Linked DNA regions of Homo sapiens: region 2 is linked to region 1. Evidence: promoter capture Hi-C in human tissues and cell types (Jung and others, 2019). All regions are on one chromosome and are shown on one strand. Each heading gives the region's core, a stretch centred on a gene start or on the middle of the fragment in contact. The rest is flanking DNA. Distances are from core to core; before and after follow the strand shown. Region 1 holds the start of EML5 (EMAP like 5). Region 2 overlaps FOXN3 (forkhead box N3).

What was found. Contacts are between HindIII fragments. The study calls those that stand out against the background at their distance.
Region 2: a contact is called between a fragment that was not itself captured here and the fragment with the promoter of EML5 in region 1, in 1 of the 25 tissues and cell types used here (dorsolateral prefrontal cortex).

The regions. Positions count from the first base shown.
Region 1 is chr14:88,790,191-88,797,122 of GRCh38, forward strand. EML5 (EMAP like 5) reads right to left here and starts at 2,763. Exons shown (of 44, transcript NM_183387.3): 1 at 2,117-2,763. The coding sequence starts at 2,313. RefSeq lists silencers at 2,274-2,353, 2,544-2,903. The HindIII fragment of the contact is 27,448 bases long and covers 1-6,932 here.
Region 2 is chr14:89,403,787-89,410,718 of GRCh38, forward strand. All of the region lies in intron 2 of FOXN3 (forkhead box N3), which reads right to left. Among named protein-coding and RNA genes, the nearest start is that of FOXN3, 10 kb to the right of the region's middle. The HindIII fragment of the contact is 4,295 bases long and covers 884-5,178 here.

The DNA.
Region 1 (6,932 bases), core at 1,513-4,012:
TCAGTATCATATTAAATTTGTGCCACCAATTTCAAGATGCTGTATGATTCAGATTTTACTCCCTCATTGAAACTTTTCAGGAAACTTATTTTCATTGTTATACATTAAAGATGTGTCATTTGGATAAAATCATAAGCATGTATATTCAACGATGAGAAATTCGAGTATGTTTGTTGTTTTGTATAAGTTGTGCAACTATACCAAAAGAAAGTCAAAGCATTACCTTCCTTACAGTTTACTGAAACACAATTATGAAATTTAAGCGGTGTGACATATAACACAGCTTCTAATTACTGCTAGAAGAACAAGATGTAATTTACCTCACCAAATAAATCATATCTAGTTTCAGAAGACCTTAGTGCTATACTGCTCTCATAACCCCCAAGGAGTAAAAACAATACAAGTGTACCACGAGAAGACCTCAAAATCCTTCACATTTACTCCACCAGCTGAATTCAACCTAACAGACTAAATTATCTGGAGCAGGGCTTCAGTTAAGGCTGCTCCAGCTAGGTAAAGCTACTATGCCTGGTACTTTGGGAGACCTAGCATATGGAAAAGAAGGGAGACTTGAAAGGATTAGGGAAAAAGACAAGACACTGGGGTAAACTCTACTCTTGGGATAACTAAGAAGATAAATAATTACTACGGGTTTACTTTAGTTTTGTTTTTCCATCAGCAATTTGGGCTATTATAATAGGTCTGTAACCCTAATCACCACGATACAGAGTCCCAGCTTGAGAAAAATGAAATGACTTATCAGTTACCTTTTCAAAGTAATACATTAAATACAATCTGAAAAAGCACTCTGGTGTCCAAAAAACAAAAACAAACAAAAAAAACCAACTGAATACAGAGCACCACCTCATTCCTTACTCTGCAATCTCAATTTTGTCTTTTCTTATCTTTACTCCATCTTGCCCTACCTCTGTTTGTCCTAGGCATCCTTTCCCTCTTACATATTATAGATGTACAGAGACGCAAAACAGAAGAACAACTTTATTTGTGGAATTTACATACCAGGGCTTCTTGCCTACAAGACTTCAAACCAAGGTACCGTATTTGAAATGCCCAATTTAAATCCTGTGCAACATACATGAGGGAATAACATTTTGTAACCAAACCCAAATCGTAGAATCTTTGATAAAACCCCAAGAGCACCACACAAACACATTCTCAATTGCTTTTAATATATTTTCCTCTGTAAAGGACAAAAAATGCTGTGCTTGAGGCAATAATCAGTGGCCTAGAATGATTTCTGAAGCTCTTGACTTTACCATAAAAGTTGTACTAAGACACTGATTGAAAATTACATTTCAAATATACCGCTCACTAAAGAAATGTCAACAAGCTCTGGGACCAACTTTGAGTTATTGTCCAAGGAAGACTAAAAATAGCCCCCCAATAGCGATTTAATTTTAAGAAAATACAAAAGTAGCTTATTTAGGAGTATTTTAATGAAGATGAAGAGAACTGGAAATCAGTGAAGTTTTCAGCAGCCTCTTCAGATAAGACCTACCTTAAATTGCCTTCAGGTGTGCACATTTTAACATCCAGTGAATTGCCTGGAGGTTGCCTGGGGTTTCTGCTGATTATAGCAGGCGGTGAAACCTGAACTAATAATTACGGCCAGGAGGTGAGAGCCCTTCAGGACGCCACCCTGGGCGCGCTCCCCGGGAGCAGCCCACCGCTTGCTGTGCTTCCATCAGTCCTTTATTAGGTAAAGGGTTTCCCCCCACCCCGGGTGCTTTAAGAATGCGTTTAATAAGAAATTTCTCACAGGATCTAACGGAATAAAGTGCCACCAAAATAACCTTTTCGCAGTTTTCGTAATTGTGATGGAGTGGGAAAGGGGACAAAGCCGTCAAACCGGGTGCCCGGTGGATCCGCGGACCTGATCTTCCTGCACGGACCCGAGAGAGAGTCCCTAGACGAGGAAGAGGGGAAAGGCATTTGTAGGGTGTTAACTGGTGGACTCGGGACCAGAGAGACAGCTGCGGATTCCCCTCGGGGTGATGCTCCGTGCAGGAGCGGTCACGGCGTCCAGAGGAACCCGCGGGTGCAAACTCCGGGAGCGGCTTGCAGGGTGACGGCGGCGGCCCCCGCTCCCCGGTACCTGATGATGTCGTCGCTGTGGCCCCGGTAGAACTTCTGCCTGTGCTCCCGCGGGCTGTACACCACGCCGACCCCCGCCACGAAGTATACGATCTCCTTGGCCGCAGTGTAGTAGAGGTTGTTGCGGCACTGGTGGCCCCGGTAGCCGTACACCCACTCGAGCCGCAGGTGGCAGCTCGGGGCGCTCCGGGCCGCCATGTCGGGGCGCCCACCCGCCGCTCCCGCTCGGGCCCGCGGCGGCGACGGGAGGCGGCGGCGGCCCGGCAACGAAAGCCCTCCCGCTGGCTGCCGGGACTTCCCGCCAGCCGCGTCCTCTAAGCCGCGCCCGTCAGGTGCATCTCGTTTCGGGGGCCGCCGCCGCCTCAGCCCACAGGCGGGAGGAAAACCCTCGCCTCGCGGAACATGCTGAGGGCCGCGAGCGCCGCCGGCTGTCAAGTGGATGCCCAGAGCCCTTCGCCCGCCTCGGCTCGCCTAGTCTCCTCAGCCCGTAGCGCCTGGGCCGAGAGCGAGGGCCCGCCTCCAGCTCCTCAGCCGCCGCCCGCGCACGCAGCTCCCAGCCCCGGTCACCTGCGGCGCTCGCGCCCCGCCGCGGCTTTGTAGCCACAGCCTGGCGGACCCGCGCCGCGCACCCCGAAACCGAGCGAGCCGAGCCGAGCCGAGCCGAGCGGCGGGCGCGCGGCCTTGCGTGGCCCCGCCCCCTCCCGCGCTCACTCCGCCCCTCCCGGAGCCGAGAAGAGGCTGGAGTTCGCGGGGCCACGGTCTAGTTGCGGAGTCGCTGGGACCGCGTCTCTGCAAGTGCGCGGGCCGGTGAGCCCTCCCTCGTTGAGCTGCTTAAGCCCAGGCGGACCCTCGGCGACCCCGGGCTCCCGCTGCTTTGCGTCCTCAACCGGGAAGCACCTGCCGGTTCCGCACGGTCCCTGCACCCAGCGTAGGCCACGTTTTTGCCTGGGAAAATCCACACCGGGATGCTAAATTCTCTTTTTTACGCTTGATACCTTGTGTGTCTTGCTGCCTTATAGTGCTTTCGGACCCAGACATTGGAATGATGCCGAGCTTCCTAAATGTGCTTTTAAATTATTATTTTTAGAAACAGAGCCTCGCTCTGTCGCCCAGGCTGGAGTGGAGTGGCGCAGTCTCAGCTCACTGTAGCCTCCAACTCCTGGGCTCCAGCGATCCTCCCGCCTCAGTCTCCGGAGTAGTAAGGAGTACAGTTGCGTACCACTATGCCCGGCAAATGTTTTGCTTTGTTTTTAAGTTTATTTTGTAGAGGCGGGGGTCTTGCTGTGTTGCCCAGGCTGGTCTCCACCTCCTGACCTTCAGCAGTTCTTCTGCCTCAGGCCTCCCAAAGCGCTGGGATTACAGGCCCAATCCACTGCTCCTGGTCCTAAGTGTATGTTTTCTTAAGTGACCGCAAAGCTGAAGGTAGACTTTAGATGGTAAACTGACATGTGAGATCTGATTTCCGAATAGCAAAAAAAAAAAAAATTGTACTTCGATTTTTTTAAAAATGACTGGGACATCACCAACAGTTACTCTTAATTAAATAAATTCAATTGTGATCCTGTAGAAAACTCCTGTAATAAAAGTATTGGGAACAATCAATTCCTGACTATGTCATTTCCCCTCCTACTCAGTTGTGTCCTCTTCTCACAGGAATATGAACAAGATTTATCAATACCTCTAAAAATAATTGGAAATCCACAATTTAAAAAGTGTTAAGTTCAGGATGGCCACAAGATTTACAACAAAAAAATACTAATTCAGGATATACCAATATGAACCCTTATTGTCTAAAAATTACTGTTTGATTTCCATAGGAAATACCAAGACAGAAATCTGACAAAAGCTAAAATAAACTACCATCGTTTCAAGAAATATGACTCCAAAAGGGGTTGACTCCTGTGTGGTACAGATATATTGGAATAGATGTTATCCAATGTCTACTTCCTCAAAGATGCCAGTTACTAACTTGAGACAGGATTACCGTTTCGTCTTTGATTATGACTTCTAATCTGCAAGCAGTTTACATGCAGGAAATAAAGGCCATCTGAAAGGAATTTACATAGATGTCATGAAAAGTAAACTCTGAAAGAGTTTCCATTCTGGGCAGAATCTGAAAAAGAGGAATAGCTTTCTGGCAGCTGCTGCAAATAAACAAAGAAATCAGGCCTGAGAAGTGGCTCTAAGGCCCATGTAGGGTACCCTGGGCAAAAGCACACACAGTTTCTCTTTGTCACCAGGAGGGCGTTTTCTGTTTTTTAATAAGAATATGTTCTAATTCACTAGTGAGTTCCTTGAAATCCCCTGGTGAGAAAAAGAAAAATTGTTGATTATTTAAATTCAAGCAGTGAACTTAGAAAACATTAAATATTTGTTGCTATACATTTGTGATATATTAATTACTGGTTACATGTAAATTTTATGAGACGAGATGGAAGAATATAGTTTTTTCTATGTTTCGGATTTTTCAGCACAATATCTTATGGATCCCATGATACACACTTAAGTACTCAGATTAATAAGAGATTTAAGTAATTTATTTTCCCATTATCATATTTTCCATTACGATTTTAATGACCCAAGTGTAGAGTGCGAAGCAAAAACATTCTTAATTAAACCATCCTCAACTGGCGACTCAAGACCAAAAGAGACAGCCGAGGCACAAAGGTGGCTAGAAAATGAACCATTCATGAATACTAGAGGAAGAAAAAAACAAACCTGATCAGTTCTTACCCTCACAACTTTATATAATCCAGTATTACCAATGTCACATCAGAAAGCTTAATGAAGCTTCTATTGCTAGGTGATATTCCATCATCTGTATCCTGTGAAAGTAATGCAAATAAGGATGTGGGAGAAAGAAACAAAAAATTATACACATCAACAAATGGACATTTGTTAAGCATTCCAGACGAAGGCTGCAATACCCCCTGTATTCGTCCGTTCTCATGCTGCTAATAAAGACATACCTGAGACTGGGTAATTTATAAAGAAAAGAGGTTTAATTGACTCACAGTTCCGCATTGCTAAGGAGGCCTCACAATCATGGTGGAAGGCAAAGAGGAGCAAAGTCGCACATGGCAGCAGACAAGAAGAATTTGCGCAGGGGAGCTCCATTTATAAAACCATCAGATCTCATGAGACTTATTCACTACCACTAGAACAGTATGGGGGAAACCACCCCCACGATTCAATTATCCCCACCTGGCACCACCCTTGACATGTGGGGATTATTACAATTCAAGGTGATATTTGGGTGGGATACAGCCAAACCATATCACCCCCTTTGGTAATCTAGTTCCTGAAACTTGAGTTCCTAGTATGGAATTTGAGATATTTGAAATATTTCTAAAATTCAGGCAAATAAATCATGTGCTGGCTACTGATTAGGTACCCTTAGGTTTATAAAGAAATCTAAGGCAAAATGTAGAAAACATAAAAACCAAAATTCCCCAGCCTGGCCAATATGGCAAAACCCCATCTCTACTAAAAATACAAAAAAAAGTAGCCGGGTGTGGTGGTGCAGGCCACCATCTCAGAAAAAAAAAAAAAAAATTCATGCAATTACTTCTAGCTAGCATGGTGGCTCTCACCTCTAATCCCGGCACTTTGGGAGGCCAAGGTGGGTGGTCAGGAGTTTGAGACCAGCCTGGCCAACATGGTGAAACTCCATGTCTAGTAAAAACACAAAAATTTGCCAGGCATGGTGGCGGGCGCCTGTAATCCCAGCTACTCGGGAGGCTGAGACAGGAGAATCGCTTGAATCCGGGAAGTGGAGGTTGCAGTGAGCTGAGATCGCACCACCGCACTCCAGCCTGGGAAACAAAGAGTGAAACTCTGTCTCAAAAAAAAAAAAAGTATATATATATTATATATATATTATATGTTATATATATTATATATATTATATATATATTATATGTTATATATATTATATATATTATATATATATTATATGTTATATATATTATATATATATTATATGTTATATATATTATATATATATTATATGTTATATATATTATATATATATTATATGTTATATATTTTATATATATATTATATGTTATATATATTATATATATATTATATGTTATATATTTTATATATATATTATATGTTATATATATTATATATATTTTATATATATATTATGTTTATATATTATATATATTATATATATTATATGTTATATATATTATATATATTATATCTCTTATATGTTATATATATTATATATATATTATGTTATATATATTATATATATTATGTTATATATAATATATATTATATGTTATATATGTTATACATATTATATGTTATATGTTATATATATTATATATGTTATATGTTATATATTATATATATTATGTATATTATATGTTATATATATTATATATATTATGTATATTATATGTTTTATATATTATATATTATATATATTATATGTTTTATATATTATATATTATATATATTATATGTTATATATATTATATATTATATACATTATATGTTATATATATTATATATTATATATATTATATGTTATATATATTATATATTATATATATTATATGTTATATATATTATATATTATATATATTATATGTTATATATATTATATATTATATATATTATATGTTATATATATTATATATTATATATATATTATATGTTATATATATTATATATTATATGTTATATATATTATATATTATATGTTATATATATTATATATTATATGTTATATATTATATATATTATATGTTATATATATTATATATATAATATGTATATAATATATATAACATATTATA
Region 2 (6,932 bases), core at 1,781-4,280, 610 kb after region 1:
GCTTTCCCAGCAGCCTCAGACAGACCCCTATCCAGGTTAGTGGCATCTTCCTGGCCAAGTCACTGTGAGGAGTAGAAAGGTAGTGTATCCATGAAGGGCCAGAAAAGCAACGATGTGAGACAGAAAACAGAGAATACAAAGGGCATACAGCAGTGGAGTAAGAGCTTCTGCTAGAGAAGTTCCACTAGTGAGAGGGAGACTCTGAGGGGAGGGCTCGCTGGACCATGAGTGCCTTACAGGCAGTGGCCATGGTACATTCAATTCTGTATTCTTTTAGCACTTAGTAGGTACTTTAAAAAGTTTGTTGAATAAATGAATGAATGAGCAGACAAATGAAAGGTTTGCCAGAGCAAGACAACGGAAATGTGCCCCCACCCAAGACACCTACTGACTGGAAGAAGAAGGAACGAACAGTCTGGAAGGAACAAATCAGCAGGATGGGGCTGCGCACGGTGGCTCACGGCTGTAATCTCAGCACTTTGGGAGGCCGAGGCGGGCAGATCACAAGGTCAGGAGTTCGAGACCAGCCTGACCAACAAACACCCTGTCTCCACTAAAAATACAAAAATTAGCTGGGTGTGGTGGCACGCACCTGTAATCCCAGCTATTCAGGAGGATGAGGCAGGAGAATCGCTTGAACCTGGGAAGGCGGAGGTTGCAGTGAGCCGAGATTGCACCACTGCACTCCAGCCTGGGTGACAGAGCGAGACTCTGTCTCAAAAAAAAAAAAAAAAAAAAAAAAAATCGGCAGGATGGGTCAGGGAGCTGCGCTTTCTTGGGATCACAGGATGCTGGTATGAATGGCTTCCTATTCCAGGGCCTGTGACAAGGGAGTATTTTTATTTCTGGCCCCTCAGAGACCCTGGTAAACTCTCAACCTTCTGAGGTGACATAGCCTATAGCACAGACAGCAGAAAGCAGCCCGCCTGGCAGTAGGCACCGGTGAGAAGGAGGCCGTCTTCAGGGAGAGCCATTTCCGACGCTGGACAAGGCAGCCCCAGGTCGAGGATGAAGAGGATTGTCACTTCACCCAGAGACCACAGAGGAGTCTCACACACATTACAAAATTACATGTTCCACCCCACCCAACATTACACTAATTCTTAGGAATTTACACATCCGAACCAGACCACACTGTCTTCCAATGAGCATTATTTATCCAAAAAAATAATAATAATAAGTCATCTCTTCCTCCTAAAAGGTCCATCAATGAGACAGGTAGGTTGACTGGTGTCACGGTTAGGGGAAATGCTCTTGATTCTGCATTCACAACACCAAGAAGAGAAAACTAGAAGCAACTGCTCACGTGGGGTGCTGACACATAGAGGTGCAACCTCAGTTTCTTTTTTTGTTGTTGTTTTTCTTTTTGAGACAGAGTCTCACTCTGTCGCTCAGGCTGGAGTGTAGTGGCGTGATCTTCACTCACCGCAACCTCTGCCTCCCGGGTTCAAGCGATTCTCCTGCCTCAGCCTCCCAAGTAGCTGAGATTACAGGCGCCCGCCACCAGACCCGGCTACTTTTTGTATTTTTAGTAGAGACAGGGTTTCACCATGATGGCCAGGCTGGTCTTGAACTCCTGGCCTCAAATGATGCCCCCGTCTTGGCCTCCTAAAGTGTGGGATTACAGACGTGAGCCACCACACCTGGGTGCGACCTCATTTTCAAAACTGCCTTTGAAAAAGAATCTCATCTACCGAGAGCAAACGTGAAGAGAACAGCAAATTAGAGACAATTTGTATCAACAGTGTACACGCAGGGAGAAAAGCTTCCTCACTTGGCTCTGATGCCACTGAAGGGGTCCTATGAGGCAGGGGGCTCAGGATGGAGCCTGGAAACCGGAAGCTGAGCAGACAGTTGTGTGCTCTGTGCAGATGCAAGAACTTTACATGTGCTGACAATTGAGCCCCATCTCAACGGTACAAAAATATACTCTGTATTTGCCTTTCTCTATCCTGTGCCCCCAGAGTTAATTCTGGGTTTATTTGGGTTATTTCAATCCCCTATAACCCATATTCACAGGATATTTAAAGGAAGCACAGAGAGATCATCTACAATGTCTGCTATACTGAGAAGGCCTAGGCAAGCACCAGGGGTAAGCACATGCCCTTCAGAATTGGAGGGAATCGGGCCAAGCATGGTGGCTCACAATTGGGAGGATTACTTGAGGACAGGAGTTCAAGACCAGACTGGGCGACACAGCAAGACCCCACCTTTACTAAAAATATATTATTTCTGGAGACAGGATCTAGCTCTGTCACCAGGCGATCTTCCCAACTCAGCCTCCTGAGTAGCCGGGACTACAGGTGCGTGCCACAATGCCCAGCTAATTTTTTTATCTTTTGCAGAGATGCAGTTTCATCATGTTGCCTAGGCTGGTCTCAAACTCCTGGGCTCAAGTCATCTGCTTGCCTCGGCCTCCCAAAGTGCTGGAATTACAGGTATGAGCCACAGTGCGCAGCCCTACAAAAAAAAAAAATCTTGAAATTAGCTGGATGTGGTGGCATGCACCTGTATTCTCAGCTACTTGGGAGGCTGAGTCAGGAGGATCACTTGAGCCCAGGAGTTCAAGGTTTCAGTGAGCTATGATCATGCCAGTGTACTCCAGCCTGTGTGACAGAGACCCTGTCTCAAAAATAAATTAAATCAATAATTTTTAAAAAGTTGGAAGGAATTAGGTTCCTTCCAATTAGGTTCCTAGTAAGTTCTGCACTTGCTAGCTGTGCAACTTCTAGCAAGTTACTTAACCACTCAGAGCTTAACTCATCATCTATTTTAAGAAAGAAAATAATAGGGCCTACTTCATAGGGTTTAGTGAGGAAGAAATCAGATACTGCATATGGAAAGCACAAAGCAAGCATGCCTATATTTATAAGCTAAAATTGTATTTAAAGCACTCAGCTCTGGATATAATAAACATACTTTTGTACAGTGTTTCCTTTATAAACCCTTTGATGACAATGTTTTTTGTTCAAGTAGCAAGAGGAAAGGTTAAAAAAAAAAGGCACAGAAATAGAAATACACACATACCTTATAATCCAGTCTGGAAAAAAATAACTGCATTCTACTTCTCATTTACAAGTACTCAGAGAGGTTAGTACATGCTAATCTTACACTCCTAAGTAAGACCTGTATTTAGGGAGTGTAAAACTTAATCCCAGACATTAAAACTCTACCTTAATTGATTTAGGCACAGATCATCCATAGACGAAATGAAAAAAAAAAAAAAAAAACTAATGAGAAATTTTATAGAGTAGGGAACAGTGACCTCATGTGAACCCATGGCTCAATCTCAGCTTCCCCAAGAGGGGGATGACCAGGCTTCTGGAAGTGATATATCCAGAATGTGACCCAGACGTTCGTACTTCCTTCCATTTGACAGGAAATAGAAGGAGAGAGAGAAGCAAGTTACACGAAATCACAAGGAAGTAAACAGAATGCAAGTACTCTATAGTGTAAGCCATGGGTCTCTTTTAACAGGGAAGGGAATGAAAAAGGAAAGAGGGCATAGGAGTGCTGCAGACTGACACAGACAGGAAACATCACAAAAGGCACTGCAGGAACCACATTTGGACCCTAATTCAAACAAACATTTTGTAAACAGGGATATCTGAATATGGACCTGGCATTAGGCAACACCAAATAATTGTTCATTTTGTTAGGGGGGACTTGAGCATGGTTGTTATGTAAGAAACCGTCAATTATTCTTATGTATACCGAAATGTTTGAATTGTAAATGTCATCTGCTTCAAACTACTTCAGCAAGGCTGGGTGCAGCGACTCATGCCTATAATCCACAGCACTGTGGGAGGCTGGGGCAGGAGGATTGCTTGAGGCCAGGAATTTGGGACCAGCCAGGGCAACATGGCGAAACCCCGTTTCTATGAAAAATACAAAAAAAAAAAATTAGCCAGGCATGGTGGTATGTACTTGTAGTCCCCCCTTCGGAGGCTAAGGCTAAGGCTTGAGCATGAGAGTCTGAGGCTGCAATAAGCCATGATTATGCCACTGCGCTCCAGCCTGGTCAACAGAGTGAAACCCTGTCTCAAAACAAAAAACCGAAAAACAACTTCAGAAACAGCGACAACAAAAAAGAATAAATAAAATAAGTGTGACAAACCTTTGTCAACTACTGAATCAGGATGTGTGTTATGGGGGTATATCAAGTCATTATACGATTCTAGTTCTGTGTATGTTTGAAAATTTCCGTGATTCAAAAATAAAAATAAAACTCTTATCTTCTGAAGTCCTTTCAGAGATAAAACGAAAGCCAAGCTGTCTCTTTTGCCCTGACTGACTCATTCATGAGAACATGCTCTTGATGAAATCTCAGCAACTGGAAAGACCTCAAGAGGGCACCTAGTTCAGGGATTCTCAAACCTGGCTCCATGCTGGAAACACCTAGGAAGCTTAGCAGAACTACCAGTTTTCCCCAACCCACCTCACACCTAATGAATCACAATCTCCAGAAAGGGGCCCAAGAAAACGGGAATTTTTTTTTTTTTTGAGACAGGGTCTGGCTCTGTCACCTAGGCTGTATCTCGGCTCACTGCAACCTCCACCTCCCGGGCTCACACCATCCTTCCATCTCAGCCTCCTGAGTAGCTGGGACTACAGGAGTATGCCATCATGCTCAGCCAATTATTTTTGTATTTTTTGTAGAGACATACATGTTGCCCAGGCTGGTCTCAAACTCCTGCACTCAAGCAATCCTCCCGCCTTGGCCTCCCAAAGTGCTGGGATTACAGGTGTGAGTCACCGTGCCCGGCTGGGAATTGTTTTTTAAGTGCCACAGGTGATGTAATCTAGTATGTTCCCTCCCCAACATCCCAGCCAAACAGTTGTCCAGCAGGGTATGTGTTCCAAGCCCTCAGGGACAGGGATCACACAGGATTCCACATTTTCACTGCTACGTCAAGCCTAACCGTATTCTTCACTTTCAGAAGAAAATTAAAAGTGGAATAGCTAATTCACTGCATACAACTTGCAAGGTTTCAATGTTCTCGTTCAATTTAAGGTATTTCTCACCAACCTTCAGGTGCATTTAGTCACTGTGTTGAAGGCAACTTCAGTGTGGGAGCTCCCGCCAAATAAAATCTCATAGGAAAAAACAAGTTTACCCATAGAGCTAAAGGAGCTTTCACTGGGCAGAGTATCAGGGAGAATGCCATAGTAGCATACCCCAAGTGACTGGGCCAGGTCAATGCCCTGGAAGGACCTGGGTGTACCTGAGCATACCTGGGAGCCTGCACCTCTCACAGCAGCCAGCAGCTGGCCTGGGGGAACCCAAGAAAGAGGAGAAAAGTGGAAAAACTCACACCTCTTGCTTTGTTCTCACAGAATCGCAAATGCTGGGAACAAACTCCCAACCACAAAACTGACTGGCATTTGATCAGAAACATGTCAACACAGGTCAGGATGGCTGGGAAGCCAGAACTGAATGTTTCATAACATTAACAATCTCAAGTCTTTAAAACCATTCTCTTTCAACAGGTGATACCTGAATGTATCCGGATTGACAATCTTCATCCCTGGAAAACATGACTCCCAGAATCCAGCGGTGGGGGACGGGGGGGTCGCATGGCGGGAGAACAGCTCCTCCCAGTGTGCCTCAACACAGGGCATCCAACACCCACTTGTCACTCCCAAGGCTGACTGATGAATAATGTTCCCAAGTCTCGCTGCACGCCTTGGCGTTGGTCTTTTCTAACATTTCAGAGTGTGCATTTGCTAAATTACTTCTATGTGCACCGGCATTATGTCAAACACGAAGATTCAAGCATGCAGGAACTTGCAGACTCGTTTTACACCAAACTAAACGCCCTGTTTGTTGCTTTATCACTGCTGTGAGGCTTTGGGGGACCTGAGCAGCACTTTCTTCTCCACGTTCTCAGTCTGGAATTGCTTTTGAAGACTTTCCCTTTCTTGCCACAAAGACCCACCTATACAGAAGCTTTAAATACCACAGACCTGGTTCTTTACAGAGGAGCAATGAATGTCCTCTAAGCTCAAAGAATAATCTTAAAGCACTCAAAAAAAGCCAAGTCCAGAGGTGGCTCTCCAAATGCCCAACCTGAGATACGGAGGGAAGGAGAAAGAGCTTCATGGTCAAGGAAATTCCTCTCCCTGATTAAAGGGGCATACTTTGATGGTTACAGCTACACAAAAATAAGGACCTGGGGAGGAGGGAACCAGAAACTTATGAATATTCAGATCTGCACGCTCGACCCAGGCATCATTTGCACCAGTGATCAAAGTAAATCTCTCCTTAGTGCCCACATCTTTCCTCCCAGGCAACACCCCTCCCCAAGCCCCGCGTCCCCACCCCCCATCTCAAACAGAAACCGAGTGAAGAGCATTTGCACACAAACACGTCCAATTTGAGCAAGGAGCAATACGGTTGGCCACTTCCTGATTCATACTCTCCCATGCCAAAGACAAGGAGAATATTCTCAGGCTCAAGATTCTACTTGAAATGGTGACATGTTGCCAGAGAGAAAGAAATTGAAGGCCCCAGCCCCGCACAGCCACTGATCCCACACAACAGTGGTCCTGCGCCCGAACCTGAACTTCAAAAAGAGGGAGAACCAGCACCCCAGCTGCACACAGCAGCATTATTAACACAACACACAAAGCGGGAAAACACAGTCACATGAAAACTTAGTGGAAGGAACTTTCTCTGGCAATTTATCTTAACCGCGGCTGCATTACTTTTCAGGGCTCAAAGTCAGATCACAATTTTGTTTTCCACTTCTTAACAGCTGCCCAATTTCTACGAAACCTATTATGTTCCTTAAAACAAAAATAGGCCAGGCGTGGTGGCTCATGCCTGTAATCCCAGCACTTTGGGAGGCCGAGGTGGCTGAATCACTTGAGCCCTGAAGTTTGAGACCAGCCTGGGCAGCATGGTGAGACACCATCTCTACAAAAAGTAT